7 separate regions of the Homo sapiens genome follow, and regions 2, 3, 4, 5, 6 and 7 are each linked to region 1. Evidence: promoter capture Hi-C in 16 types of primary human blood cells and fetal thymus (Javierre and others, 2016). All regions are on one chromosome and are shown on one strand. The core of a region is centred on a gene start or on the middle of the fragment in contact, and the rest is flanking DNA. Distances in the headings are between cores, read along the strand shown. Region 1 holds the start of POU3F3 (POU class 3 homeobox 3). Region 2 has its middle 47 kb from the start of LINC01831. Region 3 overlaps LOC100287010 (a long non-coding RNA gene). Region 4 overlaps LINC01102 (long intergenic non-protein coding RNA 1102). Region 5 overlaps LINC01102 (long intergenic non-protein coding RNA 1102). Region 6 has its middle 16 kb from the start of LINC01103. Region 7 has its middle 44 kb from the start of LINC01103.

Region 1 (3,586 bases), core at 570-3,069:
CGGCGGCGGCTGCGGTGGCTGCTGGGGGCTGCCAGCCATGCCCACGGCGCTGCCCGACCACGGCGAGCTCGCCTCCACGGCGGCGGCGGCGGCAGCGGCGGCGGCGGCGGCGGCGTGGGGCAGGGCTGTGACCCACTGGTGCGCGTGGCTCAGCATATGGCCGCCGTTGCTGGCGGCCATGGCCCCCTGCATGAAGTCGCTCTGGACCATCTTGACAGAGGACGGGTCCCCCCGGTAGGCGCCCGAGGTCACGGCGGCGCTGCCCGGCTGCATGCCGCCGCCCCCGCCCCCTGCGCCGCCCCCGCCGCCGCCGCCGCCGCCACCCCCGCCGCCGCCAGCCCCTGCCGCGTCCGAGTGCACAATAGAGCCGGCCGCGAGCAGGCTGTTCCCCGGCAGGTAGGGGTTAGAAGCCGCCGTGGCCATGCCGCTCCGCTCCCGCCACCCCACCGCCGCCACCACCGCCGCCGCCGCCGCAGCAGCAGCCGCGGCCGCCGCCGCCGCCGCCGCCGCCGCGCCCCCCGCCTCCCGCCTCCTCCCCCCCTCCTTCCCCGCCCCCGCCCCGGGCCCCCGCCGGCCCCGCCGCCTTCGCCGCCTCCTCCTCCGCCGCCGCCTCCGCCCCCGCCGCCGCCGCCGCCGCCGCGGCCCCCGGCTGCAGCTGCAAGGCCGCTCGGCAGGGCGCGGGGGTCGCCGGCCGGCCTTGGTCACCAGCAGCAGCAGCAGCCGCAGGAGCAGCGCTCTGGGGAGGGGGGCTCGCTTCTCGGGGTGCGCTCCGTGGCCACCCCCTTCAGGGGGGGTCGTGGCCGCCCCCCAGCCCCGGCGCGCTGGGCTCGCTCCAGCGGGGCTCGCCGGGCGGGGCGGGGACCTGCACTCGGGGCGCTCTCCCGGGACGCGCGGGCTCCCGCTCCTCCTCCTGTCCTCGGGCGAGCCCGGACTCTGCCCGGTCGCGGGGCTCCGTCCACCTGCTAAGTGAAGGTTTCACGGGAGATAACAAAGAAAGAAGCTGCTCCTTTCTTCCTTAGCCAAATTACGGATGACCAGCAACCGGCCCGCTCCTTCTCTTGTCCGCTCTCTCCTCTCCTCTCCTCTCCTCCTCAGGAACACATTTCACTCGTTTTCCCTTAGAGTAGTAAAACTTTTTCGTCCTTGAAGGCGTGGTGCTGCTGGCTGCTCGCGAGTGCGGAGAGGGGAGGCTGGCTCCTGCTCTCCCCCTCTGGTCCTCTCGTTTCAAGTTTTGTTCTGTCCTAGGAAAACTTCTTGCGATGGTGCATTTCTCTGAAGTTGCTATTGCCGGAGCTCTTGGTTGCCTCTGAAACAAGAGTCCTTTTTCATTCTCCTCGCAACAGTCACAGTCTGATGCGACATCTTTCCTTTTGGGCAGAAATTAGGAAACAAATATAACAAGGAAAAAATTGAACAGGAAAAAAAATGATGTCGAATCGCTCTGTTACCTTGTTGCTGACGGTTGGGGTTGGTGTTTTATTTTTTTCCCAGCAGTTGTCTGGAGAAGGAGGAGGAAGAAGAGTGCATTGGTGGAGGTGGAGGTGTGTGTGTGCATATAGGGGATCGATCCTTGATACACAACAACTCCAGTGGGCACGCTGCACGGCTCGTAGAGTGCACCGACGGCGGGCGCTGGCGCTGGCCGTGCTGGAGCAGAGTTGCAGCAGGAGCTCGCTCTGCGCCCTCGTTCGCGCTCTCTTTCCCTCTCTCACTTTTCCTCTCCCTCCCTCTCTCTCTCTCCCTCTCTCGGGCGCCCGCTCTCGCTCCGATCTGACAGTTCGCTCTCTGTCCCTCCCTCTCAGAGCGGGGACTGTCGAATGTTTACCCTCCGCCGCGAGCGCGCACCCACCACCACACTTTCCCAAATACAAGGAAGTCGAGCACCAGGGCCCCCGCTGATTGGCTACCCGCTGGGTGATTGGCAGGCTCGGAATGACTGGCTCAGGACGCGAGGCCCCCCTTCCGGCCGTTCCGATTGGTTGCTTTTTAATTTAGGCAGAGCGTCGTAGAAGCTGGAAATCTGTCGTCCTCCAGCCTCCCTCCCCCTCACCACTTTCCCCTCCCCGCCCCTCCCCCGCCGCCCCCTCCGCCACATCTTAACTCTTAGTGTCCGGCCCAGACGTTGGCGTTCCCTCGGCGGCTCTGGGCGTTCGCAATAGGTCTGGGCGGGGGGAAGAAAGGGGAGATAAAAGGGAGGGAGGGACGAGAGGGGGGAAGAGAATCAGAAGGAAAACGAAGGGGGAAACATGAAAAATAGCAACCTGCCCACCCCACCTAGTACGCGTCGGGTTGCTCACCCCCTTACCCCCGCCCCGCCAGAGATTTGTAAAGCGCGCGGCACGGATGTACCATTCAAGCTAATACCTATAGACAGATGTGTCCCCAGTGGTTTCAAAGTTTCCTCTTCCCTTCACCAGCCGGCCCCCTTCTCTGATCGGCGGGGGTGGGAAGCGGGGGCTCGCATCGCCAAGAGCTCTGGTCGTGGCCACGCTCCTTGGAAATCCGCCACCGCAACTTTCCGCAGCCGTTGCGCGCCGGCGGCAGCCCCCTTTGTTTAAGTTCTCGGATGCCATCATCTGGGAAACCTGCAGCCCAGGACCAGCGCGGTGCCCGCGCGTGCGAGACGGACCGCTCGCTGCCGCCGCTCCCTGGCTCCTCCACCCCCTCTCTCCCTCCTTCGCTCTCCCTCCCTTCCTCCCTCCTCCCTCCTCTGGGATTCGTGCAAGTAGCGTGCGTGCCCTTGTGAGTTTGGAGGGTGCCGGTCAGCGGAGCCGTGCGATGTATTTGAAAAGCAATCAGTCCGACCTTCCCCCATAGATTCATCGTAAGTGTATTCGACCCCAATGGCTTTAGGAATTCCCTGTGGCAGCAGGAGCCGGGCGAAAGAACCGGGATCGGCTAGCCGCGCCCTTCTCTGCTCCACCGCTTCCTCGTGTGTGTGTGTGTGTGTGTGTGTGTGTGTGTGTGTGATTAGCGGTGGGGGGGTTTGCTCGCTCTCTATTCTTAGGCATGGTGGTGCTTTTTTTTCTTTCCTTTCTGTCTCAGATGGATTTGCGTGGTGGATGGGGCTGGCGGCGACAAATGCTTTCTCAGCTCTAACCCAGCTGAAAGAGTTAAGGGGGATGGGAGGGGGAGTGCACCCGGTAGGCGAGAGAAGCGGGGGTGGGGTGGGGTGGGGTGGGGGGACGCGGCCAAGCGGAAACGCTGCACAGAGGAACCTCAGCGAACCAAGAAAAAAGAGAAAGTGGCAACGAAAACAAGGGCAAATTGAGCCCTCCTCGGGGATTTCCAATGAACTAACCCAACTCGGACATTCAATAAATACATGGCTCTTAATGAGCGTGCGTGTGCGTGCACCCCGCACCCCTAGCTGCGGGTGCGCCCGCTTGCGCCCGCCGCCCCCAGCCAGAGCCTGCATCTGGCAGTCCCGAGCCCGAGCGGCAGCCCAGGACGCAGCCGAGGAGCGGCCGCCGGTGCGCTCCGATTAAAATGTGAACGGGCCTGCCCTTCTCTCCCGCTGTATCGTGCCTCTGCCGAGCGCAGTTAAGTGAACTCAGTGAAAGCAGGAGTTCTCCTGCCCAGCCGC
Region 2 (3,586 bases), core at 553-3,052, 490 kb after region 1:
TTCATCAAATTTTCTGATTATAAATATCAAGGAGTCACTGAAAATACAGAAATGAGCCAGGCGTGGTGGTGGGCGCCTGTAGTCCCAGCTACTCGGGAGGCCGAGGCTGGAGAATCGCTTGAACCCAGGAGGCGGAGGTTGCAGTGAGCCGAGACTGTGCCACTGCACTCGGCGATAGAGTGAGACTCTATCTCAAAACAAACAAACAAACAAACAAAAATTTAGCCAAATGACAAACTGATTGCTTTTTGTTCGTTAGTATGTGAATTACTTCTGCAGCCTCTCCTTGTGTTTTGTTCCTCAAATAAGCTCGGACTTCTCCTGGGCTCCTATTCCTCCTTCCAACAGCAGCGCCACCTACGCCTTTCAGAATTCTTGGCAGAGACGCCCACCTCTGTCAGCGGTTTTCAGCTCCTCCTGATTGACTGTTGTCTCTTCTGCATTGCCATGACGTTTCGTTTTATATTATCGAATTCATACCCTATTCAAATTCTTTAAACCTTTGCCTTTCCCTGTTATTTGTCCTTCTCCTGAGGTTGGAAACTCACTCCCCTTTGTGGCGCCTCCCAGGCACAGCCGCTGCTCACTGGACATTTGATTCGAATTGAAATATTTTAAAAAGAAGCCAATGGGAAAGTCACTGAGAATCATAACTATCTCTTGAGCCTTTGAGGAAAAAAACAAACAAAATGAACTTACCCCTAATTATTGAAAAGCATTGATACATTTTATAGAGAAGAAGAAAAATTCTAAAACAAAGGTTATGAACCCGGCTTGCCCCTAAGCCTTTATGACATGTCCTTTCTCTGTAAGTATGACGGTATCTCTATCCTCTAGAACAGAAAGAACTTAGAACCTCTTTCAGACTTCAATGCCATCTTCTCCCTGGGGGCCTTTCCTGACCACTGTGCTTGAAAGTACCACAGCCCCTTCCTCCAGCTCCCTCTGCCCGGTCTCCATGTCATTATTTGTCCTTCCAAGCACATAACCTCCTAAGATTCTGCAAGACTTTCTTTTCCATTTTTAATTTAATTTGTTTTGGGTTTCATATTTTTGTCTACCCCAGGAGTGTTCAATCTTTTGGCTTCCCTGGGCTACTTGGAAGAAGAATTGTCTTGAACCTCACATAAAATACGCTAACACTAACAACTAGCTGATAAGTTATTTTTTTAAAATCACCAAAAAAGTCTCATAATGTTTTAAGAGAGTTTACAGATTTATATTGGGCTGCATTTAAAACCATCCTGGACTACGTGCGGTTTAGACAAGCTTGGTCCACCCTAAAGAATGTACAGTGAATGAAGCCAAGGATTTCTTATTTTTTTTTTTTTCTCTGCTCTATCCCATCACAGGCATTCACTAAGTATTGGGGAATGAATGAAAGAATGAACATCTTTCACTCATTTCTCCCTTATATTTCAAATCCATCCTATGGCTGAGTTATTTTTGTATAAAATTTTCCAAACACATCTATTTCTAAAACGTTTTCACTCTTAGACTATTGAAATCTGCTGTGTAGCTGCTGTAAGCTGGATAGGCCATTCTCAAAATATCCCTACACTAAAGGTACCATTGTTTTTTTTGATGTTTGTAAGACCAAGTTTGTTCTTTTTTCCAGTGTTGCAGTAACACTCAGGTTGCTTTGAAATTAAATTAAAATTGTATTTTTTGTGCACTAAGGTCCTCCTTTCTCTGTGTTCCCTTTTATTATGGTCTGGCCTGTTTCTCAGTATTCTGGGCAGAACCCCCTACATGCTTCCTTATCCCTTGCCACCCACTTTTTTTATACTCATATCTACAGTTTCTACTGTTTCACATACCTTCTGCCTTAATTTCTGATCAAACTTCATGTCAACTTCCAGAGAGTTACTTTATACTGAAAAAATTCATTTTAAAGTGAGCTGATTATATTTACTTCAGTCATTCCAGAAATTACCTATGCCACTCCATCACTCAACATATATGCATTAAGAGCTTATTAGATACCAGGCACTAGTCTGGGTACTGGAATTATCAGGGAGAACAAGAAAAATAAAATCACTGCCAAACTGAAATTATGATGACATTCTAATTCTTTATTTTTGCCTTCTCATTGGGTATGTAGGATGCACCATATAAATACACTGTGTACCATGCACATACTGCGATGGTTTAAAAAAAGAAGCTGGTCTTCAGCATGGCTTGAGATCTTCGTTTCTATGAATTAGAGTCACTGTGCACATTCTTTGTGCCATCAACTGAATTTCAAGGAATGATGTGTGTGTGTGTGTGTGTGTGTTTAATTTTACTTACACACCTACTCCTTCTGAACTATTTGTATATGAAGACAAGCTTTTAGACTATATTCTTGTTCACCTTTCCAGCTCCGTGTTTTCCATTTTAACATGTTCTAAAGCAGATTACAACTATGACTTGGGAGGAGAGTATATTGCTGGCCAGGCACACTGATTGGTATCTCTATAAAGACAAATTAATTGAGCAAGTGACAAGCTTTGTAACAAGTTTCAGGTGCCACATTTCACATGGTCGCTCTTTTGGAATAAGACAAGGACATTTTCATAAATGTCTTGTTACTACCCATCAGGACATGCCCCCAAGATTGCAAACCTTATGGTCAACTCTGAACACTTTGAGAACTTGAATTAAAGTTTGAAATTTAAGGCGATAGCATTCTGAGCGAGGTACAACATTTGTAGACATTAGATTAAATTAACAAAGCATCATCTGTCCCTCTGATGTTGTGGCTGCAAAGTCCTTCAGGCATTGTCTGTGTGTGTGTGCACACACTCATGAGCATGCACGCATGTGCAAAAAGATTCTTCTCAACCACCATCATAGCCCATTTCTGGAGTCTCTCTTCTCCTACATGCTAAGTATATTTCTGAGAAGTACAGAATAGAAAATATATTGCCTTAGTTGGCCAATCCAATGCAATATCTAGAAGCTTGGAGACAAAAGGATCATGGCCATGAAAGACATAAATGGCAACAGTCAGTTGAATCAACAGTCATAAAGTTGAGTTTTTCACAGACGCAAGAGAAATCAGAGTTATGGAATTTGCATCAAATTTGTATAATTCTTGGCTGGTTTGGCCAATGTTTAATTTAATGGTTCATTCTATTTTTAAAAAGTAGTTCTAAAATTTGCTTCCTTTTGTTAAATTCATTCTCCAAAAGCCAAATATTGCAATCTAGTGATGTAGCCTTCAATTTTTGGCAAAGACCATTACATTTTCTGCTCTTTTTTCTGATGGTGTAGTGGGGGAAGAAGCACACTGTCTCAATTGCCATGATGTATTTTTATTTTTAAACTACTTTTTTTTTTCTCAAGGAAAACATCTCAATTTTGAAACTCTCTGACATTATTTTTGGCATAATTTCTTTGCCTTACCCTAAATAGTTTTGCCACATTTATTGTTCTTATCACATGATAACTGAGGGGATACTGTCTCTCATTTCGAATATAAAAAAGAAAACAAAAAGAAAACCTGCCCATAGAAGCTGGAATACTTGGGGTGTGACCTTAATCTCTTTTAGTGCAATTAAATTAAAAAAGCTAATGATGCTTAATAATGTACTGCCTCTTG
Region 3 (3,586 bases), core at 309-2,808, 460 kb after region 1:
TGCGGTGTTTGGTTTTTTGTTCTTGCGATAGTTTACTGAGAATGATGATTTCCAATTTCATCCATGTCCCTACAAAGGACATGAACTCATCATTTTTTATGGCTGCATAGTAGTCCATGGTGTATATGTGCCACATTTTCTTAATCCAGTCTATCATTGTTGGACATTTGGGTTGGTTCCAAGTCTTTGCTATTGTGAATAGTGCCGCAATAAACATACATGTGCATGTGTCTTTATAGCAGCATGATTTATAGTCCTTTGGATATATACCCAGTAATGGGATGGCTGGGTCAAATGGTATTTTAGTTCTAGATCCCTGAGGAATCGCCACACTGACTTCCACAATGGTTGAACTAGTTTACAGTCCCACCAACAGTGTAAAAGTGTTCCTATTTCTCCACATCCTCTCCAGCACCTGTTGTTTCCTGACTTTTTAATGATTGCCATTCTAACTGGTGTGAGATGGTATCTCATTGTGGTTTTGATTTGCATTTCTCTGATGTCCAGTGATGGTGAGCATTTTTTCATGTGTTTTTTGGCTGCATAAATGTCTTTTTTTGAGAAGTGTCTGTTCATGTCCTTCACCCACTTTTTGATGGGGTTGTTTGTTTTTTTTCTTGTAAATTTGTTTGAGTTCATTGTAGATTCTGGATATTAGCCCTTTGTCAGATGCGTAGGTTGCGAAAATTTTCTCCCATTTTGTAGGTTGCCTGTTCACTGTGATGGTAGTTTCTCTTGCTGTGCAGAAGCTCTTTAGTTTAATTAGATCCCATTTGTCAATTTTGGCTTTTGTTGCCATTGCTTTTGGTATTTTAGACATGAAGTCCTTGCCCATGCCTATGTCCTGAATGGTAATGCCTAGGTTTTCTTCTAGGGTTTTTATCATTTTAGGTCTAATGTTTAAGTCTTTAATCCATCTTGAATTAATTTTTGTATAAGGTGTAAGGAAGGGATCCAGTTTCAGCTTTCTACATATGGCTAGCCAGTTTTCCCAGCACAATTTATTAAATAGGGAATCCTTTCCCCATTGCTTGTTTTTCTCAGGTTTGTCAAAGATCAGATAGTTGTAGATATGTGGCGTTATTTCTGAGGGCTCTGTTCTGTTCCATTGATCTAAATCTCTGTTTTGGTACCAGTACCATGCTGTTTTGGTTACTGCAGCCTTGTAGTATAGTTTGAAGTCAGGTAGCATGATGCCTCCAGCTTTGTTCTTTTGGCTTAGGATTGACTTGGCGATGCGGGCTCTTTTTTGGTTCCATATGAACTTTAAAGTAGTTTTTTCCAATTCTGAATGACAGCAAGCTTTCAGCTGGGAAGTGGGGCACTGGTGTCCCCTCCTTGTAGACACTCCTCATCAAACCACAGGGTCTCATAAAGCCCCATTTATTTGATTATGGAGAAGAGAGGGAGACCCCTTTTCATTCCTGACACTGCAGATCTATGAGGATCCAAGAGCCCTTCCATCCTTCTTTACTCTGTAATCCTCTTATATAAACTGGGAAGCAGGGGATGGTCACTGGAATGGTAGCAGGGGTGGTTCTGCCACTGCTTAACAAACAGGGGACAGTGTCTGGCCGTATATATTATATTTTTTATCATTTGTCAGTTCAGAGTCTTGGAGTATATTCCAGCTCAAAATAAAAAATGTCAGCTCCTTATTTTGTGGATGTACTTTAGGAAATCATCAGTACCATTTATCAGATATTTTTATTTTCCTGTTAGGCACTTGGTAGAATTGCATTTCCTTACCTTCTTGGAGTTAGGTAAGGCCATGCTTTAGCCAGTAATTATTTTATATTGGGAGGGAAGCTTTAAGAGCTTGAGTGTCGTTTACTTGATTCCCATGTTCATCTCTAGAGACTGTGGAAGAATATATCCAAATGGAGCCTCCGTTAGGCCAGGTCTTCATGTGTTTAGGATGAGCCAAGCCTCCCTGTGTTCTTTGTGTTGAATATGTGGTGTGAGTGGGAAACATATTTTGTGTGTGTGAAAAGCCACACAGATTTTTGAGTGACCTGTCACTGCAGCAAAATCTAGCTTAGCCTGATGAAAACAATGTTGTTGCATTAAACATGAGCAGCCAGGTCAGAAGCTGATAAGGACTAGAAAATGCAGATCTGCCCTGCTCAGTGCCACCTGCCCCATGCCTGTCCCCTCTCTGAGGCCCAGCCCCCTTTCTCCGTGTCCATCACACTTTGTGGAAGCGTTGCCAGCATGTCTGACAAACTGTCCTATAAAGTTGCTGACATCGACCTGGCCTCCTGGGGACACAAGGGCCTGGATATTGCGGAGAATGAGATGCTGGGTCTGATGAGTGTGTGGGAGCTGTACTTGGGCTCCAAGCCACTGAAGGGCACCCATATCTCTGGCTGGCCGTATGTGACCGTGGAGAGAGACATCCTCACTGAGACCCGTTGTCTCCCTGGATGCTGAGGTACAGTGTTCCAGCTGCAACATCTTCTCCACCAGGACCAGGTGATGGCTGCCATTGCCAAGGCTGTCATTCCAGTGCATGCCTGGAAGGGTGAAACAAGCAAGGGGTAACTGTCATGCATCCAACATTCACTACTTCAAAGACGTGCCCCTCAACATGATTCTGGATGATGGTAGTGACCTCACCAACCACATCCACACCAAGTACCCACAGCTCTTACTGGGCATCCAAGGCATCTCTGAGGAGACCACCACTAGGGTCCACAACCTACATAAGATGATGGCCAAGGGGATCCTGAAGGTACCTGCCGTCAACAACTCCATCACCAAGAGCAAGTTTCACAGCCTCTAAGGCTGCCGGGAGTCCCTCATAGATGGCATCAAGAGGGATACGGATGTGATGATTGTCGGCAAGGTAGCCATGGTGGCAGGCTATGGCGACATGGGCAAGGGCTGTGCCCAGGCCCTGTGGGATTTTGGGGACCCCTTCGTCATCACCAAGATCGGCCCCATCAACCTGCTACAGACTGCCATGGGGGGCTATGAGGTGACTGTGGTAGATGAGGCCTGTCAGGAGGGCAACATCTTTGTCACTGCCACAGGCTGTGTTGACATCATCCTTGGCCAGCACTTTGAGCAGATGAAGGATGATGCTATCATGTGTAACCCTTTGATGTGGAGATCAATGCCAAGTGGCTCAACGCGAACACTGTGGAGAAGGTGACCATCAAGCCCCAGCTGGCCAGGACTGGCTGAAGAGCAGCACGGCACCATCCTGCTGGTTGAGGGTCTGCTGGTAATCCTGGGCTGTTCCATGGGCCACCTCGGCTTTGTGATGAGTGACTCCTTTACCAACCAGGCGACGGTGCAGATTGAGCTGTGGACCCACCCAGACAAGTACCCTGGTGGGATTCACTTGTTGCCCAAGAAGCTGGATGAGGCTGTGGCTGAATCCCACCTGGGCAAGCTGAATATGAAACTCACAAGTTGACCAAGAAGCAGGCTCAGTACCTGGGTATGTCCTAAGACAACCCCTTCAAGCCAGATCACAACCGCTACTGAGAGCCATGCCTGCCCTTCACCTTCCAGCTGCTGTCCTTCCCAGGCCCCGCCTCTCCTCTGTAAGAGCAAATGGCACCAACTTTGCGATTGG
Region 4 (3,586 bases), core at 616-3,115, 390 kb after region 1:
CAAGCCCGTGTCTGACACACTGCCACAGTGAGTTCCTCTCTCCTCAGTCTGCCTGGCTCAATGGCTCCACTCAGCCACTACACTCTTGGGTCACCGTCCACATATGGCTCTCTCCTCTCCTCAACTGGCTCTTAAATTCCTCCCAGGAAAAGAAAATACACTTATAAATTTTTGACTCAAATAATCAAAGTAGTTGCCTTGAATTCTTCATGACTTTATTTATGAAAGCCTGATTGAGTGTCAATGGCGATGTTGTCTTGGGTGTAAATCCTCTTACTCATAGCTTTATTCCATTTTGTGAAATAAGGAGAATTGGTATTTAAATTGAGCTTTCACATGAGACATGATTAAATAATTTCTACTGAAACCCATAGGCATGCAACCATGCAGAGAGACATTGTGATCTCTGCCTCTGAATCGGACCATTAGTCCTTTGACATCTCTGGTCTGTCCCCTGGTGTAGAATGACCACCAAGGTGAGTTCAAGGAAAAGCCACAGCTGCCTCTTCACCTCTGTTCTCATAGGTTTCTTTTTTCAATGCCTCTATTCAATTTATATAAAGAAAAAAACAGAGCCTCGGGGATCTCTTCACACTTCTGAGTCTCTGTCAAGCAAAAAGATAAAGTAAGTGTTGAAGAAGGTGCATGATAATGTAACTGGAAGTGTCCATGCCTTCCAGTAAGCAAAGGGCTTGACCCAGTAATGTTTGTGTAAGTTGTCTCCTGACTCCAGAGGTCCACCTATGTCTATTGAGTACAACCACGTGGGTTCCAAACATGTATACATTATAATCGGGTAAATAGAATTCTCTTATTGGGGTGGCACATTTCCTCCTTGGAGAGGAAGAGTATTGCTTCAGACTAGAGGATCCTGAGGTCCCTGACCAAAGAAGTTCATTTTAAAGGACAACATCCCCGGGGTTTATGAATTGTCACCAAACAGACAGACCAATTTAAAATGATATTCAGCCATGTGGATGAGTCAAATGTGATGCCACTGCTTCTGCCTCAGTACTATAAGTGGAGAAAATGGATTTCCTGTAGAATTCTGGATGAGAGCTCTGGATGAATTCCCAGGGAAAAAAATGTCTGACCATAATCAAAAGTGGTGTCAGGTTGGGTTTGGGGAATTATGGATGATTTCATAGTGAGGGAGATCAAATACAAGGTAGCTAGTGTAGGAGACAAAGCTAGTGGCACAAGCAGAGACAGGGCCAAAGGGTATCATTCATCAAGCCAGGGAAACTTGTTCTCCCTCAAGAGGCTGGGGAGTGGTGGAAGCCTGGTGAGCAGGGAGGATGTGGTCAGGCTCACGCAACTCTTGGCAGCCCGTGGGACAGGTATGCACAGACACACACTGCTGTCCAACTGGTCACTGTGCTCTGGATCACCCACCCTCAGAAGGGCTCTGCAAGATCTTCAGTGAAGTTGGACATAACTCTTAATTTGCTTGGAGAATGTGGAGAGTCAAGGGACTGAATGTTTTATTGTGCAGGGCTGAAAGAGAAAAGTATGTAATCGTTTCTGGAAAAATTTTATCCAAATAGGCCTCCTTGTGTGGAGTTGGAAGAAGAGTATAATTTCCTCAGAGACTATTCCTGCATGATTCAGGAACACTTCTTTAATATCCAACAGAGGAATGAGATGCAAACATGAAAACAAAGGGATCTGATCATGTGCCTTCCACCAGAGTCCACATCTTCCCATCATCTGGGGTACAAGCACAAGCATCTCAGGTTAGGCTTTTGAGAAGAAGATGTGATGTGAAGATTTCTGTGCAATCGATGCATGAAGGAAGAGCTTCCAGGAGAAACTGGTGAAAGATGAGGTAAGCAGACCACAGAAAAGGGGAAGCCAGGCCAGGGAGTCGTGCTAGGCAAACGAGCATCCTCAGTCTGTCTGATCTGCCAGGGAGCTCTGGAGTATAAGTCAAACCTGAGAGATGGACTGACTTGGGGTACGGGAGCCAGTCTTCATATCTGACACTGGCCAGACTTTGGAGAGGGGAATCAGGAGCTGAAGGGCAGTTTTCTGCCCTGATGCAAGCCAGAGAAGCAGGGCCATAGAGGAAGAGGTGGGGGACACACCAACAACAGGTAAAGGGACCCAAGAAACTCTTGGCTGAGCCGGGCCAGTGTCTCCAACAAACTTTTCACCGACTGAGGTCTGCATACAGGCTGAGAAGTATAGTTTGGAGTCAGATATGCAAGTGTTTTTCCCCCTTGAGCATCTACTTTTCTTATTAGATGTGTAAACCTTAGCAGAGTACTGAATTTTCTCCATATAAGAGCTCAGAGTTTCTACTTTTGCAAAATGGAAATAATGATATTGCCTCCCTTATGGAACTGCGGGACTTCAATGACATGAAGTATGTATAGTACTCAGCTCAGTGTCTGCACATAATAAATGGGTAATAAATGTTAGTGAAAATGAGAATTGAATTTCTTATGCTTAAATAGTCACCATTGACTAAGTGTTTAATCAGAAGGCATGCAAATGGTGTGGATATGCGGAACTCCAAATAAAATTTGTCCTGATACTTGAGGGCAAACATACAATCTGGCTTTTTGAATTCAGATACCTCAGCTTCTTTTGATCTGAATTATTCAGGGAACCAATTCAACTTTCTGCCTAGTCCTGTTTTGCTTGGAAAACACAAATGCTGCTAACATTATGGTTCTTTCATTATACAAATCATAGAACTTCTCTGGGCCCAAGTTTCTCATCTATAAATAAGATAGTTTGACAAAATGATTTCCAAGTTTCCTTCCAAAGTTTACTATGACTGCATTATTTTGCACATGTCATTCTAGACGGAATTAATCGTAGGAAAATAAACGTTCAATTATGCTGAAGGTTACAAACTTCTAGCCTTTACAATTCAAAAATATTTCACTAAAATTAGACTTCAGTTAGAAGTACGAAGGCAGTAACATGAACTATTTTGTTTCAGTGTTGTTTTGACCTATTGTTATTTTGGGGTTGAAAACAGTGTATCTGGCCAGGCAAGGTGGCTCATGCCTGTGGTCCCAGCTCTTAGGGAGGCTGAGGCGGGTGGATCACTTGAGGTCAGGAGTTCGAGACCAGCTTGGCCAACATGGTGAAACCTTGTCTCTAATAAAAAATAAAAAAATTGGTCAAGAGTGGTGGCATACTCCTGTGGTCCCAGCTACTCGGGAGGCTGAGGTGGGACAACTGCTTGAACCTGGGAAGTAGAGGTTGCAGTGAGCTGAGATTGTGCCACTGCACTCCAGCCTGGATGACAGAGGAAGACTCTGTCTCAAAAAAAAAAAAAAGAAAACAGTGTGAGAAGAGGTGAGAATTATCTTAAAAATAACTTAAACAATCATAATCATTCCCAAAGAAAATTTGCAGCCCAGAAGAAATGTCTGCTACGTTGTTTTGACCTACGTGAAGGAAATTGTCAGAATGATAAAGCTCTTTATGACAGTTATTACATTGGCAAACAAATAAAGCAGTCTTTCTTGAGATATAAAATACATAGCCTTTGTAAAATATAAAGACCCTAAGTTAGGGAAGCTCTCAAGCTAAGATATATTTATTCCCCTTAAAATAACCTAAACAT
Region 5 (3,586 bases), core at 636-3,135, 370 kb after region 1:
GGTGTGAAACACATTTGACCCTGTCTTAGTTCCTCTTATAAGTCCCTGTCTTACAACAGAATACCTGAGACTGAGGAATTTATTTATTTATTTATTTATTTGAGACCAAGTCTCCCTCTGTCACCCAGGCTGGAGTGCAGTGGCACGATCCCAGCTCACTGCAAGCTCTGCCTCCCGGGTTCACGACATTCTCCTGCCTCAGCTTCCTGAGTAGCTGGGACTACAGGCGCCAGCCACTACACCCGGCTAATTTTTTTGTATTTTTAGTAGAGACAGGGTTTCACTGTGTTAGCCAGGATGGTCTCGATTGCCTGACCTCGTGATCTGCCCGCCTCGGCCTCCCAAAGTGCTGGGATTACAGGCGTGAGTCACCGTGCCCAGCCAAGACTGAGTAATTTATAAAGAAGAGAGCTTTCTGTAGCTCATGGTTCCACAAGGTGGGAAGTTCATGGGACATGGTGCCAGCATCTGCTCAGCTTCTGGTGGGGACTTTTGTGCTAGGTCATAACATGGACGAAGGTCAACAAAGAAAGGACAAAATCTGAGGGGGGTCCTCGCTTTATAATAGCCCACTCTCAGGGGAATGAGTTTATTCTCACGAGAAGTAATCCAGTCTAAGGAGAGCAGAACTAACTACCATGAGACCCATACCGAGCCATTCACTAAAGAACCCCCCGACCAATGACCCAAACACCTCCCACCCAGCCCCACCTTCCCCACCAGCACACGGGGACCGCATATCAACATGAGATTTGGTGGGGACGAGCTGTATGTAAACCACAGAATACCTGAAGCTCAAATATCACACTCCACTGAGGCATGACCTGATTCCCCAGGGCGTTGGTGGCTCATTGAGCAGTCCTCTCATAGCAGTCACTTTATATCTCGATTACGAACATGATCTCCTTGTATTTCAATTCTACGCTTTCACGTCTCTCCCTCTGTTCTAGCAAGTGCTCCCAGAGCAGAGAGCCAAGACTTATGTACTTCGTGGCCCCCCGAGTCTTAATGGTTCCTGCTATGGGGAAGATGTGCAATAGATGTAGAAAGATGTAGAAAGAATGAATATATTCATAAATGGGCAAATGCTGCCAAACATTTTTAACACACTTAAATACTGTATCCGAACTCTCTTCATGAAAAGTTCAAACAGCAACCAAAAAGCAGCTTCTCTCCTATTTTTCACTGAAGCAGAGTCCAGGACTTCTGAGACCCCCCGAGGCATCCCTCCACATCTGCTAAGGAGCCTGAGGAACTGAGGAGAGAGAATAGGGCAGAGTCACTCCAGCCTGAGTGCAAAAGTGATCAAAAGAAGCAGTCCCTTCTCGGAGCAATTCTTTTCCATTCTTGGTATAGGAGTTGAAGTTTCTTTGCTGCGCTTCACTGGAGGTGATAATTCTATAAAATAATATGCTTAAGTTTTTCAGATGATATAACCTAACTAATGTACATGCAGGTAGGTTATATTCCTTTCTGGCTACTCTAGTACAGATTTCTCCCAAAACATTTGGGCAGTGGACAAAAGCTAAAAAACTGCTCCTCTCTGGTGCTGTAAAAGGTAGCCTTTGGCAGGCCACACAGGCCTTTCTAGACAGCATCTTGTCTTCACAGCCGCACCTCCTTTTTTGAAGTCATATCACCAGCATTTTGAGTACCAGAGTACCTATTTAGGGCACGAGAATATGCAGCTATCAAAGAATTTGCACGGAGCACATGGCTGGTAAAAAAACAACAACGAAAAAATCCCACTGTTCTAGGATTTCTCCATCGATTTGAGGGAACCAGGGAATTCTCTAGCAGCCATAGTTAAGGGTCACTTTAGCAATTGGAAACAATGATCAAGCAGCAAATTGTTGGCAGGGGACATCCAGACAGAAGGTAGCTTAAATTGATGGCTTCTGTGGAGGCCAGGGGAATTCAAAATAGAATTTGCCTGGGATTTTGTTTGGCCAAACCACCTTTACTAAAGAACTGTGATATCCAAACAATGCCCATCTTCCAGATCAAATTCAGAAAGCTGGAATGAGGAGTTCCTAAATAAATAAAAGTTATTCCAGAAGGATGAAGTGTCCCCTTTTCAAAAAAAGAAAAATGCGTCTTCCATGTATTACCCCAATTTGCTGTATAGGCAATGTTGTTGTGAAGCTATCCAAAGAATTTATTTGGTTCTATCAGGTGTTAAATAGCTTCAAATAATTTTATATGTAATTTACAAGATTTTAAGTTTGACTGTACCTGTACCTGACCTCTGTCATGAATACTCATTTGGCATGGATGGCAACTTAACCTGGTTTAAAGACAAATGATACCAGCTGGATATACATCTTTGTCCTGAAAAGATTCAGACGACAGTAGAGACAATCATCACCATCATCTCTCACTACAGTGTCTGCCAGCACAGGTCCTACCTGTTCTCTTGGCTCCCAGCTTCTAGGTCACAATGATTGCAGCTTATGTAAACTTAAGCAGTGCCTGTAGGCTAACACCAACAATTTCTTGGCAAGTGAAATTGGACGCTTGCTTACCTCCCCAGCCTCGGGTCTCACTGCTGCGCTCATTCCTGCTATTCTCCCTGGCTCTGATTCTCCTGAGCTGCTTCCAGTTCTCCACATGGCTCAGATGATCTTTTGCCCTCTGTCTCCCTGGTCCCTCTGCGTTAGTAACCTCTGTTCCGGTGCCAGCCACCCCTCACTTTGCAGACCGTGCTTCTGGCTGAATGCTGCACACTCTTCCCTGAGCCAAGGTTGCTTTCCTGAACACCAGTAGCCCTGCACTCAGCACCAATCCCCCGTAAGTGCTTCCCCATGGCATGCCCCATCTTTACCCTTTCTCAGCCCTTAGTGTCCTCCACTGTATTGCAGTCATCAGGGGAGATGGCTTATTCCCAGCACTTAGTTTATTGCAGAGGCATAATGCATATTTAATGATAAATGAAACCCCAGAACCTCACCCCCTGAAAAAACACACCAAATATTGTTGTCTCTCAAAGAGGGCAGTCTTGGTGCAAAAGAAAAAATGAAGCCTGAGTTTGTATTACAAAGGCATGATCTTGAACCAGTTCTGTTACCTACTACTCTTGCACCTCTAAGAAATCACTTCCCTCCTAGGTGAGTCAGTTTGTGCATCTATACAATAAGGGTAATGGTACTTTGCTTCTAAAGTAGCTGTGATTTCTAAAGGCTTACTGGCACACGAAGTACATAGCAGTGCAGTATTTGGGACCATGTTGGTAGGAATAAAATTACTCATCATTCCATGGGTATCCTGGAATGTTCATCTGGAATGCAGCTGGGCAGAGCCACTCCTTCGTGTCCACATGGCCACATCACACCTTTGCTCAGTTGCTGTGACAAGCTGCAGGCTTCCCTCACAATCACTCCAAGACAGCTCTGCATGCACAGGCACTGGTGAAGTGGAGCAGGCTGCAGCGTGGATACCTTGCACTCAACCCCCTAAAATGGACACTTCCAGGTACATTGGCCAGGAGAGGAGTCTTTGTGGTTGGTCTATATGTGATGTTACAAGGCTAAATGAAACAAAAATGCTTTGTGCTTATGGCCCATGAAAACAATGAATCAAGGAGGAG
Region 6 (3,586 bases), core at 317-2,816, 330 kb after region 1:
TGGAATACGTAAATAACCCAGCATCAGGATTGGCAGAGAGGTGATGCTAGAGGACAGTAAGAGTAGAAATGAGAATAGTTCTAGAAAGTTTGTACTGGAGGGTAGTAGGCAGTTTACATACATCATCGGGCTAATTCTGACAGCAGCCCCAGAGGTAGGCTTGCAATATTACCCCACAGTTAGAAATGGGGGCAAGTAGCAATTGGAGAAGGTTAAGTAAATGGCCAGGTGTCATGCAGCCGCAGTCCTGGCATTGGTATTTGAATCTAGCCTGCTTACTCCACAGCCTGTGCTCTAAGCCAGGGGCCAGCAAACTGTGGCTCACAGGCCAGATCCAGCCCGCGGCCTATATTTGGAAGTAAAGTTTTGATGGAATGTAGCCACTCTCATTCGTTTGCATGCTGTCTACGGCTGTGTCTGTGTTCCCGTGGCAGAGAGGAGTGGTTGTAACGGAGGATATCTGACCTACAGAGAACTGAGGCCCTGAACAAAATGAAAATGCAGGGCCTCCAGTTCACAAATTATTAAGAATTTTAAAACAGTAACAGTAGAACATTAAACCAAGCAAACGGCCCTTCTAAAGTGTGGGGCTTTGTGCAACTGCATAGTTCTCATGGCCCTGAAGCCAACTCTGGACCCACAAAGTCTAAACTATGACTATATGGCACGGTACAGAAATATTTTCCTCTGATGTTTTTCTATTTCCAGCCCATGATAAAGCTTCACTGTTCCACAAATGAGAGAAATGGATGAGGTTTCCCACAAATCTAGATGGTCCTGAAGTATTCACCATAAAGAAACTATGCTTTAGTTTGAGATTCTATCCTTATCCAATTTTTGGTGCCAAAATACCCTTTTTGATGAAATGATGGGAAGAGTAGATAATAGACGTTTGTTTGTTTTATGTCCTTAATTGGCAAAATAAAAAGTTTATTACCGTATGTCAAGAATCTAATTAAAAAAGAATTACCAGTATAGTAGTCACTGGAGGTACATAATGTTAAATGGATAGACAGGAAAAACCAGAACACAGTGTTGAGTAAAACCCAGAGTGAGATATAAAGTACAGTATCTCTGCCACACATAAATAAATACATGCTCTATTTCAAACACGTGTGCATAGCAAAGACGTATACCAAACTGAGTGAGAGTGGGGAGGGGGAAGCTGGGGTTGGGAATGGAGTTGAAGAAAAAAGCATGAGATTAGACAAGAGGAAGGCCTCGTACCTACCGATTTTGATAATACGTCCTGAACTGAGAATGCAATTAACTGAACTGAACTTTTACTGTCTGATATCCAAAACACAAACTGTCCTTGCAGTGACGCTTGAAATTCCGACTCAGAAAGCACTCCCACAATGCTCCGCAGGGCAAGCTGAGATGGACGGGTCTGCCCATGGTCACCGCTTCTCTGCCATCCGAAAGCCAGCATTCGAATAGCACTTTATGGTTTGCAAAGCTCTTTCTCTTTTATTAGTGATGGTATTCTTATACCCATTTTATAGACAAGAAACCTGAAACTGCAAAAGGTTAAGATAAATGGCCAACCAACACAAATATGGCCGAACCTAGGCTCATTCCAGGTCTTGTGACATTCAGTCTGATGCTTTTTCTAGTCTCCCCATAAAAGTTGACTCCTCGATGGGGTAAGATTCATCGTGCTTTAAGGGTGACAGCACGATTAGGAAATGTTTGCTTTTATGAAAAGTCTGTTGGTGACATCTTTTAATACATTTGCCAATAAAGAAGGCATTCATTCCTCAGGGTCTCTCCCTCTGTCTCCTTCTTTACTGAGTTTTCTCCCATCCTCATACCCGGCTTTACCAGATTGTGGGGCCAAAGTGACCCTCAGAGATGATTCCAATTTTGCACCAATGTAGGACAAAAGTCAAATAATAACACGATGGTAACTGTTTATGCCTTAAATGATCTAATTCTGATTTTCTAAGTCTCTTTGGTGTACCTGCCATGTCAACAGCCTTGCAAATGGGCTGTTCTTGCTCATGGCTAATTTAAATATCTTTGATGCACTTTAACTCTATTCCTGTCCTCCAAAAACCAGCCGCTTATATTCTAATGCACACTTTAAGATGGTTACTGAGTTTTCTACTCTACTTTCGCCTAATTAAACCAAGATCCTTTTGCATTTTTTCAAAAGGACTATTCACAAGACTAATCATTTTTGTTTTTCATTTATTTTGCATTTTACACTCTTTTGTCCCCGACTTTCTCTTAGACACTGCATGGCCTCTCTAGATACCTACTGTGATAGGTATCAAGACTAAAGTCATAGGTTAGACCAGTGATGCTCAAAGTTTAGTCCCTGGACCAGCAGCATCAGCATCACCAGGGTATTTGTTAGAAACGTAAATTGTGGGGTACCACTCCAAACCTATTGAATGAGAAGCTTTGGGAATGGGGCCCCACAGTCTGTTTAGCAAGTCTTCCGGGGAACTCTGATGCATGTTAAAATTTGAGAATTACTTTTTAGCACACTCTTTCCTCTCCCTTTGTGAACAAAATACTTTTCAGCCCCATTTGTGTTGAGCAGGGCCACATAATTTGCATTGGCCAATGGAATGTTAGTGAATGTGGTACAATCCTTAAATGTGCTTGTGTGGCTTAAGTTGGCTCTTGAGCTGCAGCGATTCAACATAAGAGGAACATGCACCTGGTCGAAGACAGTGTGGAGTTACATGGAACAGAACAGCTCAGTTTGTTTCAAAGAAAAGTAAAAGCAGAAATAAACTCTTGAGATGTCTGTCTCCCTTACAGTCTAGACGGGTGGACTTTATAGGACTCATTAGAAAGCAAATACTTGCTCAGTGAACTGGATGAGGCCAGTCTATCATGCAAAATGCTAAAAATAGGTAAATAAATTAATGCATGGAAAAAACTGATTACGTAGTTCTTTATGGGTAAAATAAATCCCCGATCATAGCAGATTAAGTGAATAAAGCAGATTAAGTAAATAATTTTCTCACAGTATACAATGTCTGGAGGGAGACTGATGCTGTCATTGGTTCTGCAGGTTGATAATCAGGGTCAGCATCTCTGTGGAGAATGTACTGGTACTGCTCAAGTTGGTCCCATTCTAGGTATTTAAAGTAGAGGGTATTTAATAAAGGGAATTGGCTATGTAAACACTGGAATAGCAGAGAACCAAGTGAAGGTAGTGAGAACCTCCAGATATTAATGGCAGCAGAAAAGACCAGGTGGATAAAAGGAATAACTGAGGTGTATTATATATAGATTCATTGAGGTCTCCAGCGGACTTTTACTCATTATTCTCCTGCTCACAAATGTCCCCTGTGTTAGCTTGCTTCATTTACCTCTAGTCCTGCCAGTTCTTCCTAGATTACCTCTTAGTAAATAATCTGCATTCACATCCTTGTCTCAGCTTCGGCTTCTGGGAGAATCATGAAGACCCACCAGCTGACTGTTTCAGGGGCAGGTTGCTAAAAATCACCCATTGTGGAAGCAGAACTCATCTATTTTATAGAAATATTTTTTGAAAACATTCATGGATTGATCTACTTCTTCACTTTAGGAACAAACTCTTCGTCATTTTCCTTCCCTCCTCTCC
Region 7 (3,586 bases), core at 627-3,126, 300 kb after region 1:
GGCTCATTCATTGGCATTCTGTGTAAGTTGTGGTAACTTACCTGCCAGTTGATGATGAAAGCGCTGTTTATCTTAAAGTATCTAAAACCGTGCCGATCAAACTACACTTCAGGGACTCTGTGATTACAATGGATATTCTCAGCTTCCTCCTAGTCCACAATCAGGCAATTTATTTATTTATTTGAAATTTAGCAGCTGGTAGCCTTGATTTGCCAGGGAGGCAAATAGGCAAAAGAAAAGTTTCCAGAAATAATCGCAGTTGGGCATTCCTGAAGGGATGGGACTCAACGTTCAGAGTCAGGGCCCAGGGAACAGAAGGGTTCCTATCGTGTCTGTTGCTCTTTGCACCCAGAGAGGATGTCATGCATCCCACAAAACAGGGCAGGCAAGTTCACATATGCAAACAGACTCATGAATACTTATTTTAAAATTTGACCACTTGTGTTTTGAGACAGAGAGGAGTCCATGTCTGTTCGATCTAAAATCCCAGTGAAAATCCTTGTTTGGTTTTGTGCCTCCCATTTTGAAGTGTTTGTCCTTATACAAAATTCAAAAAAAAGAAAAAGATGTAGACTGTGAAGAGCCTTAGGTTTTGGGCATTCCCAGAGTTCTTGTGGTTTCACATGTGCACACCTTGGATCCAGGAAAGGAAAGGCCTTCGCTTGCCCCATAGTCCACTTTGACTCTGAAATGAGGCTTTCTTTTGATGATGTATATAACCCTATTTATCTCAGTTTTAATGAGGGTACTAGTTTGCCAAAATTTTTGCGTCTTTGATCTATTAAAAAAATCACTAAACATATTAAGATAAAAAATGTAATTAATACTACACAGGTCACTTTCATATTAATAGATACAATCTGGAAATTATACGTGGGCTCTCAGTTCCTTTCTAAGCCAACAAACAAAAACAAAGCAACCACCATACAGATAAACAAAACAATATTCCAAAAAATACCATGAAAAAAATCTTATACATGCTTAAAAGGTCTTTTCATAAATCAGTGTTCAGTTAGCAAAAGGATATCATTTAAGCATTATTATATCCCAAAAACTAATTGCTAATGAGTAAAAATGTAAATATTAGATGTCTTCAATAATTTTTTTCACCTGCTTTGCCCATAAAGTCTTAAACTATTCTCTTTTTTGACTATGTGCAATGATTTATAGGGAGATATGACCATGAGCCCTCAATTCATTTATATTTAACTCAACAAAGCTTTACCATGAAGTTTCATGGGATGCCCTGGATCTGTTTAAAATGCTTTTTTTCTCCTAGAAATTAGAAAATTAGCAACAATAAATGGAACTAAAACCCAAAGCATGTCAGGTCTGATATCAATGCTTTATGAATGTAAGATAGCATTGGAAAGTGGCAGAATTAATTTTTTATCCTTAATTTATGTGTTTCTCAGGCCAAGAACGTTTTCCTTGGAGATCCCTGGCTCTCAGCACCTATAAGCAAGCGATTGCAAGAGAGAAACATTGCCTCAAAATCTACTGATATCTTCAAATAAAGTGTTACATTTTGCTGATGAGTACTAATGCCATATTCCCAGGAAATGAGATGCCACGTTTTCCATTGCTTGGGCATTTTTGAAAGGGGTTACCTCAGGGCCAATGCTGCTGTTTTCCTGGCATGCCACATTATCGCTCTCTATTACTTTAACTGCAGTCGCAGTTCTTCACATCCCAAAAGGAGTCAGGGTTACCGAAGCATGTCATATTGTCTTAAGTGGAAAACATTGAAACAACAGCAAAGTTTACATATGTAGTATATGCATGCACATATAATAACACTCATGTGCAGAGTACACAAAAATGCACATGTATGTGCACAACAGGCAGCATCAGATGTGGAGTGTATATGCATGTGCCTTATGGTGGACACCCATAAGAGCATGCGGAGACCATGGGATGCCAGGAATTCTACCTCTCTATGAGCCCAACCTTCTACCCAAGGCCTTTGTCCTTCCCCTCCCATTTTCTCCTAAGCATTTCAGCCTCAATTCCCAAGTTTGAAAAGCTATAAATTTCTGAACAATGTTTGAGCTTTCAAAATAGTTGAGTTCCTTCTTTGCAGATTTACCCCTCAGTGTGAGCACCAAAAATGAATTCTTATTATGCAAAATTTTTGGCATTCTGAAAGCTACCGCTGTGAGACTCAGCACTCATTTCATTGGGGAGCTGCAAGCAGTCTGTAAATGTGGGTTCTGCTTAATACCAACTTGACTTTTTTGGGTTAGGGTAATGTATTCAGGAATCCTTGAATATGAAGTTTGGGTTTTTACAGGCAGACAGAGAGGAGATAAAGCCGTGATTAACTTGATTTTTTTAGGTCATGCAATTTTGTTGATTAGCAAAGCTGATGGTCTGCATGTGAAGAACCTGGACTGTTTTCTGGAATTCAGATTGTTGGGTGATCACCCACCTCACCATTTCTCTTCATTTGTGGACAAAACCATAGGTAGGTACATCTCCACTGGAAGTTCCCCTGTTTGAATTATTCTCCAGATCACTGTTGGAAGCTTCGGTAGGTTGGCTTCCCATGCCAGTAAAAAAGAGTGATAGCTGCTTTGTGAACAACGCAATTTACAATGATTTCAGCTTAGACTTTTTCATCCAATGGTTTCAGGAAAAAAGAAAGGAAGTAGAGGAAAGACTACTCAAATCCTTCAGCTTCCGTTCCTGGCTATTTGGAGGAAAAAATCACAGCGAGAAGCAGACACTTTATTTTCCAGGCACTTTATTTTAGAGCTTTCTTTCCCTCCTGGAGTAGGAATACATCTTCCATGACAGTAGTAATAACTGAATATAGGGTCCAATATGAATCCCTAATATTTAAATCTATACTTATGAAAGCCAAGTTTATTCAGTTGCTCATTCACTCATATAAACACACCAAAGCAGCACAAGAAGGAAAATTATTGTCCTATGTAGGATTTTTTGTATGCTTGTTAAAAATAGCATCTATGCAGAAACAGTATCTGTAATTTATACACATGAATAGATTCCTTTACTGAAAGAATATGTTCTCCAATTTCTGGAAATTGGATCATATTTTAAATGCACTTGAGGGTTTTAAAAGTGATTCTGTATTCATACTTTTTTTTAGGTGAAATCTTACTGTTGAGTGAATATTCACTAGTTAATCTTTTTACTAGACCTGACTTTTCACATATTAAGGTTTGAAAGCACAGTTCACCTGTCCTGAGCCCTCCGAATTTCTCAGGTGCCTGAGCCCTAGAGTCATTAGCTCTGCACACCTGGGAGAGATTTTGAGAAGCATCTGGTCCACTTCTCCACCTTCAGAGGAGTCTGGGTTGATATTTCTCAATTTTCTTCTTATATGTCTTCAGGGACTTCCCTATATAGACACTCAATGATGTTAATGTGTTTCCCTCTATTTGCAGACTAAAGAGTTTTATTTATGCCTTTTCCTCCTTGTGTTAGTCTGGATTTACTAATTAAATCAAATTCCCTTTAAAGACAAGGAGACGGAGTCTTACTCTATCGCCCAGGCTGGAGGGCAGTGGCGTGATCTTTGCTCACTGCAACCTCCGCCTCCCGGGTTCAAGCAATTCTC

What was found. The method cuts DNA at HindIII sites, captures the fragments that hold promoters and counts their contacts. A CHiCAGO score of 5 or more calls a contact.
Region 2: a contact is called between a fragment that was not itself captured here and the fragment with the promoter of POU3F3 in region 1, in 1 of 17 cell types (megakaryocytes). The highest score is 5.5, in megakaryocytes.
Region 3: a contact is called between a fragment that was not itself captured here and the fragment with the promoter of POU3F3 in region 1, in 1 of 17 cell types (M0 macrophages). The highest score is 6.0, in M0 macrophages.
Region 4: a fragment that was not itself captured here is called in contact with the fragment with the promoter of POU3F3 in region 1 in 4 of 17 cell types (M2 macrophages, M0 macrophages, M1 macrophages and 1 more); the score reaches 6.7 in M2 macrophages.
Region 5: a contact is called between a fragment that was not itself captured here and the fragment with the promoter of POU3F3 in region 1, in 1 of 17 cell types (monocytes). The highest score is 6.0, in monocytes.
Region 6: a contact is called between a fragment that was not itself captured here and the fragment with the promoter of POU3F3 in region 1, in 1 of 17 cell types (M2 macrophages). The highest score is 5.5, in M2 macrophages.
Region 7: a fragment that was not itself captured here is called in contact with the fragment with the promoter of POU3F3 in region 1 in 2 of 17 cell types (monocytes and M0 macrophages); the score reaches 5.4 in monocytes.

Annotation. Positions count from the first base shown.
Region 1 is chr2:104,852,348-104,855,933 of GRCh38, reverse strand. It overlaps POU3F3 (POU class 3 homeobox 3), which reads right to left and starts at 1,819. Exons shown (of 1, transcript NM_006236.3): 1 at 1-1,819. The coding sequence starts at 423. It also overlaps a transcript of PANTR1 not described here. RefSeq lists an enhancer at 1,626-2,215 and a silencer at 3,424-3,473. The HindIII fragment of the contact is 8,766 bases long and covers 1-3,586 here.
Region 2 is chr2:104,365,079-104,368,664 of GRCh38, reverse strand. No RefSeq gene overlaps it. Among named protein-coding and RNA genes, the nearest start is that of LINC01831, 47 kb to the left of the region's middle. The HindIII fragment of the contact is 1,062 bases long and covers 1,272-2,333 here.
Region 3 is chr2:104,394,909-104,398,494 of GRCh38, reverse strand. All of the region lies in intron 1 of LOC100287010 (a long non-coding RNA gene), which reads left to right. It also overlaps the pseudogene AHCYP3. Among named protein-coding and RNA genes, the nearest start is that of LINC01831, 17 kb to the left of the region's middle. The HindIII fragment of the contact is 507 bases long and covers 1,305-1,811 here.
Region 4 is chr2:104,464,434-104,468,019 of GRCh38, reverse strand. All of the region lies in intron 1 of LINC01102 (long intergenic non-protein coding RNA 1102), which reads right to left. Among named protein-coding and RNA genes, the nearest start is that of LINC01102, 32 kb to the right of the region's middle. The HindIII fragment of the contact is 5,892 bases long and covers 1-3,586 here.
Region 5 is chr2:104,480,514-104,484,099 of GRCh38, reverse strand. All of the region lies in intron 1 of LINC01102 (long intergenic non-protein coding RNA 1102), which reads right to left. Among named protein-coding and RNA genes, the nearest start is that of LINC01103, 28 kb to the left of the region's middle. The HindIII fragment of the contact is 5,330 bases long and covers 1-3,586 here.
Region 6 is chr2:104,525,016-104,528,601 of GRCh38, reverse strand. No RefSeq gene overlaps it. Among named protein-coding and RNA genes, the nearest start is that of LINC01103, 16 kb to the right of the region's middle. The HindIII fragment of the contact is 1,687 bases long and covers 723-2,409 here.
Region 7 is chr2:104,552,605-104,556,190 of GRCh38, reverse strand. No RefSeq gene overlaps it. Among named protein-coding and RNA genes, the nearest start is that of LINC01103, 44 kb to the right of the region's middle. The HindIII fragment of the contact is 1,309 bases long and covers 1,222-2,530 here.